2 separate regions of the Homo sapiens genome follow, and region 2 is linked to region 1. Evidence: promoter capture Hi-C in human tissues and cell types (Jung and others, 2019). All regions are on one chromosome and are shown on one strand. The core of a region is centred on a gene start or on the middle of the fragment in contact, and the rest is flanking DNA. Distances in the headings are between cores, read along the strand shown. Region 1 holds the start of MAPK13 (mitogen-activated protein kinase 13). Region 2 overlaps BRPF3 (bromodomain and PHD finger containing 3).

Region 1 (2,731 bases), core at 109-2,608:
CTTTAGTTTCCTGTCTGTGACATGGGGGCAGTAGTACTCATATATCATGAGGACTAGACAAGTTAGTGTATGCAGAGCTCTTAGAACATAGGAAGTGCTCAATATGTGTATATTGCTATTGTTATCAGGGTCACGTGGACACAACGCTAACTAGGATTCTAGTCCCAGCTGGCCACAAGCTCTCAGACATGGAACCAATTACAAAGTTCCCCTGTGCCAATTTCCTCTGTAGGATAACACAGTCTGTACCTCACAAAGTGCATTCTGCCAAAAATACCCTTTGACCTCTTCCTGGAAAGTGGGCAGGGAAGGTCTCGGCACCCCCTCCTTTCAATAGTGAGGCGAGAGGCACCGTCAGGGGAGCAGGGAGGAGACTGTCCCGAGCTCTCCATACCGGGAGGCCCCGCCTGCGCCTGCCCCTGACTCCCCAGGGCAGCCCCCACCCCCTCCCCGGGGCAGCCACCACCTACGTTCTCATGCTGCATGTGCTTCAGCAGCAGCAGCTCCCGGTAGGCGCGCTTGGCGAAGATCTCGGACTGAAAGGGTCGGCTCAGCTTCTTGATGGCCACCTTCTCCCCTGACCGCTTGTCGATGGCCGAGCTGTCGGGCACAGGCCGGTCAGCAGGCGAGGCTCTCCTCCTGGGCCGTATCTCCCAGACCGCCCTGACCCCTCCCACTGGGCAGCTGGGCTGAGAGGGGACTAGGCCCACCACCTAGAATATGGGGGAGCCGCGGGACGCAGGGCAGGGAGTAGGAAGCCAGGCAGGAGCTGAGAGAGGGGCACAGCGCCAGGGGCAGCAACGTCTCATTGCGACGGGATCCACGGCAGGGCGGGAGTCTCACTCTGTCTGCAACTTGGCGAGCCACCTCCCCCTCTTGGGGCCTCGGTGTACTCGTCTGTAACAGTGAGGATCTGCCCGATGAACTCTGGGGTCTTGCAAGTGTACAGTCCTGGAGAACCAGGCCCAGTCCCAACTCAACCCCCAGAGACCTCACTCAGCCACTCGGTGAGAAAAGGGAGATGGCCGCTGGGTGGCCCCGGGGAGGGCGCTGGGCCTTGAGGTCCGCGGTCAAGGTGGCGCTGGCGAGGGGCCAGCCCAGGGCGGGCTGGGCGGAAAGGGGAGAGCCTGGCGCCCGCCCCCCGCCCCCCAGCGGCCCAGGGGTCTCACCACACGGAGCCATAGGCCCCGCTGCCGACGTGCGTCGGGGACACGTAGGTCTTGGGCAGCTCCCAGGCTGTCTTGTTGACGTCCTGCTTGTAGAAGCCCTTTTTCCGGATGAGGCTCATCCCGGGCACCCGATCTCGGCGGCCCCAGCGTGGCGGCTGCGTTCGCGGCCCAACGGGCTCCCAGCGCCCCGACCCCCGCTGCGCCCGCCCCGCGCCGCCCGCTCCTCCCCCGCGCGAGGGCGGGGGCCCCGGGCTGCTACGCTCCCACCTGCCGGCTCGCCCAGGTGCGCCGGGGCCGCCACGCCCGGGCCTGTCCAGCCCTGCGCTCCCGCGCTTCCGCCCGGCCCGACGGAGCCACTGCGGCAGGTGCGGCCCAGGCACGGGGTCGGGGCTGCCCAGCGGGACCCCGGTGCCTCCCAGCCGAGCGCGGGCCAGCGGCGGGGCTGGTGGGTCCAAGCAGGAGCGGGGAGGCAGTGCTTCCCAGTTCCCTCCAGCCCCGGTCTCCGTAGGAAGAGCTCCCTGTGACTGTGAACACACAGGAAAGCAGAACAAAACCCCACAACCTCTTCATTATGGAAAATGTCAAACATGCAGGAAAGAATTGAACAGAGTAAGCCAGCGCTTCTCACACTTCAGTGTGCTCAGGAATCCCCTGGGCATTTTATTTGATTAAAATACAGATCCTGACTCAGTAGGTTTGGGGTGGAGCCGAGATTCTGCATTTCTAGCCAGCTCCCAGGTCTGAGGCTTCTGAACCACATCTGATAGGAGGTTCTAATGAACCCCCGTGACCCCAATTCCCCAGCAACCACAACTCATAATCAATTTTATTTCATCCACATTCCTCTCCCACCATCGTTTTGAAGCAAAACCCAGGCGTCATATCATTTTATTCATAAATATTTTTGTATCTCTAAAACGTAAGGATTTTTAAAAGTACGTATCCACAATACTATATATATATATTTTTTGAGACTCTGTCGGAGTGCAGTTGCCATCTCGGCTCACTGCAACCTCCGCCTCCCGGGTTCAAGCAATTCTCTGCCTCCGCCTCCCGATTAGCTAGGATTGTAGGTGCCTGCCACCAAACCCGGCTAATTTTTGTATTTTTAATAGAGATGGGGTTTCACCATCTTGGCCAGGCTGGTCTTGAACTCCTGACCTCGTGAACCACCCGCCTCGGCCTCCGAAAGTGTTGGGATTACAGGCGTGAGCCACCGCGCCTGGCCCACAATACATTCTTAAACCTAAAATTAATAGCACTAATTCTATAATACCAAATATCCACGCAGGTTCAAATGTGCAGGATTTTTGTTTGTTTTTGACATGGAGTCTCACTCTATTGCCTAGGCTGGAGTGCAGTGGCGCCATCTCAGCTCACTGCAACCTCCGCCTCCCAGGTTCAAGCAATTCTCTTGCCTCAGCCTCCTGAGTAGCTGGGACTACAGGTGCACACCACCACTCCTAGCTAATTTTTGTATTTTTAGTAGAGACGGGGTTTCACCATGTTGGCCAGGCTGGTCTTCAACTCCTGACCTCAGGTGGTCCGCCCACCTCAGCCTC
Region 2 (2,731 bases), core at 92-2,591, 79 kb before region 1:
TCCTCCCCACCCATCCAGGCCTCTCACCGTCTTCCCAGGAGAAGCGGTAAAAGTCTTCCAATTTGGGTGACTCGGGCAGGTGAGTGCCCCTCTCGGGGTCATAGCCGATGTTCTCTGCCTGCCGCCGGGCGTGCCGTAGGATGGCCCCTCCCAGGTCCCGCAGGCGGACAGCTGCTCGGTGGAAAATTGTGTCTTTAGCATTATACTTCATGCAGTTGGTAACTATAAGGTTAAAGTCCTCCTCAAACTCCTCCAAGGTGCGGTACAGGTGGGACTCCAGCTTCCGCCTCATAGTAGAAAAATCCATTGGCTTGGATATGAATTCCAGGTAATCTGGAACCTAAACATATAAAACCTGTACAATTACAACAACCATTTACTAGCCAAACAGACACACCCTTCACCAATACTCTTGGCCTCCTCAATTTCTGATTTGGCCATGCCAGGCTAACTCAAAGACCTACAGTCCTGGCCCACCCTGGCCTGCTGACCCCTCATCAAGGGCAAGTCTACTAGCTTTGCCAGACCCACCCTCCTACCCCTGGTTTTGTACACCCTGTGGCCCAACTCCTTCCTAGCCTACTCAGACCCTGTTCCAGTTCAAGAAGAATTTACTACTTGGAAAGTAGGGGGAACTTGCCTCACTCAAGTTGACTGGTTCTGCGAAGATGTGTGCAGGATCCTTCTCCTGCAGCAGGTCCAGTGTTGTCCTCAACAGAACATTGAATGGCATCAGCTCCAGCTCCATGGCAGCCTGCTGGACTTTGACCTGTGGGGAAGGTGGGGTGAGATCAGATCAGAACATCCCCTGCAAAGATGTACTGAAACTTTTTCTTGATAGTTTGACTTTTACCAATCTTGTACAACAAATTTTCATAGAATATTAAGCTGACCAGTATATGAGAAGCTATCACCCAACCTTTAGCCTAGGAATAATGACACCAACAGCTACTATTTTATTATTGTTTCCTATGTACCAAACATCATACTAAAATTTACAGTAACAATAATAATTATCATTACAATTATAATCATTAACACTTCTATAGCCCTTACTAAATGCCAGGTAATGTTCTAAGCATTTTATGTAAAATAAATGAGTATATGAGGTAGGAACAGATGAGGTATTTTACAAAGAGGAAACCAAGTAACTAAGGAACTAGGAGGAAACTAGAGGAAACTAAGTAACTGGCCTAAAGTCATAGCTAATAAGGAGCAGAGTTGGGATTCAGTCCCAGTGATTCTACAGTGAGTGCTCTTGGCCATTATGCCACACTAACTCTGTACTTGTATTACCTCAATTAATCATCACGATAACCCTGAAACAGAAATTATTATCCCCATTTTACAAATATGGATCAGAACAAGGATCACCAAGGACTAAAAGAAAAAAAATACAAATTAAAAAAATGTATATGGAATCTGAGGTTTAGAGACAGCATGATGAAGGAGTTACTAGTCTAAGGTCATCTGTCTAGAAAAGAATAGAGATAGGATTTGAACCCAGGTCTGACTTAGTCCAAGGGACACAATGATGATGTAAAATGTGCTTGAACCAGAATTTCCCAGTGTGCTGAGATACTGATTCCATCAGCCCTTGGAGCATCTGGGTCAGCATGGGGTCACCAGGGCCTCCAGGCTTGCCCCCGCAAGTGGCAAGTAGCTTCATATACTTACAGTAGTATGCTGTACAAATGCTATTTTCTACATATGCCCTAATGTGAAAAGTTGGGAAGCCACAAATTAAGACTATAGAAAATTTCCACCTTTTGGCTATATCAAAACAGGCCTGCCTACTTCCCCAGGACCAGGCCTTCTTCTCTCTCTCATTTCTCTGAACCAGAGATGAGATGAGAAGTTCAGCTGTGGGATCATGCCTGGGACAGCACAGACATTTTGAACCCTTGAAGAAGGTCCTGAGATGTCCTCCATGGCCATCCATGGTAAATATGGCATGAGCTGCCCAGGCTATGAGGAGGAAACTCAGGCTACTGGCCTGCTAGAAAAGGGGTTGTGCTAAGGCTGACCACTGAATTAGAATTTGGAGAAAGAGAAAGAAACATCTTTTTTTTTTCCCCTTTTTGTGGAGAACAGGTCTTGCTTTGTTGCCCTGGCTCATCTCAAACTCCTGGACTCAACCTATCCTCCTGCCTCTGCTTCCCTAAATGCAGGGATTACAGGCATGAGCCACTGTGCCCGGCAAGAAAGGAACATCTTTAACCCTGGCCTCTGAAGCATGTGAGTGACAGCTGCTATTCCTAGACCAGAGAGAACAGTTTTGGCTTTTCATCCACTTAATTAACAGTATTTGCTCTCTGCCATGTGCAGTAGACACTTCAGAGAAGCAAAGAGTATTGATAATAATAATAATGACAGCAGCTGACATTTCTCTGGCTGTTACTATGTGCCAGGCACTGTTCTAAGCTCTTTACATGATGAAGTCATCTAATCCTCAAAACAACCTTATGATGTAGGCTCTATAATTACCCCCATATTCCAGGTGAGAAAACCAATGTATTAAGCGATTAAAGAATTTGCTTAATGTCATACAGGTAGTCTGTAGAAGAGGCAGGATTTCAACCCAGGCAGTCTGGTGCCATAGCTCATGTTCCTAAACACTATGCTACACTACCTACCTCAACATTTCCTATGCTCAAGGGCTTAAAATCTCCTAGAACAGAGGAGAAACAGAAAATGTAAATGATTCAGGACCATAAGTGTTTAAGAGTCA

The links. Contacts are between HindIII fragments. The study calls those that stand out against the background at their distance.
Region 2: a fragment that was not itself captured here is called in contact with the fragment with the promoter of MAPK13 in region 1 in 8 of the 25 tissues and cell types used here (H1 embryonic stem cells, adrenal gland, bladder and 5 more).

What each region holds. Positions count from the first base shown.
Region 1 is chr6:36,129,140-36,131,870 of GRCh38, reverse strand. MAPK13 (mitogen-activated protein kinase 13) reads right to left here and starts at 1,358. Exons shown (of 12, transcript NM_002754.5): 1 at 1,170-1,358; 2 at 471-600. The coding sequence starts at 1,288. RefSeq lists silencers at 353-462, 1,103-1,172, 1,213-1,462 and enhancers at 593-712, 604-1,207. The HindIII fragment of the contact is 28,110 bases long and covers 1-2,731 here.
Region 2 is chr6:36,207,825-36,210,555 of GRCh38, reverse strand. BRPF3 (bromodomain and PHD finger containing 3) reads right to left here. Exons shown (of 13, transcript NM_015695.3): 5 at 641-769; 6 at 28-340. Among named protein-coding and RNA genes, the nearest start is that of BRPF3-AS1, 12 kb to the right of the region's middle. The HindIII fragment of the contact is 5,603 bases long and covers 1-2,731 here.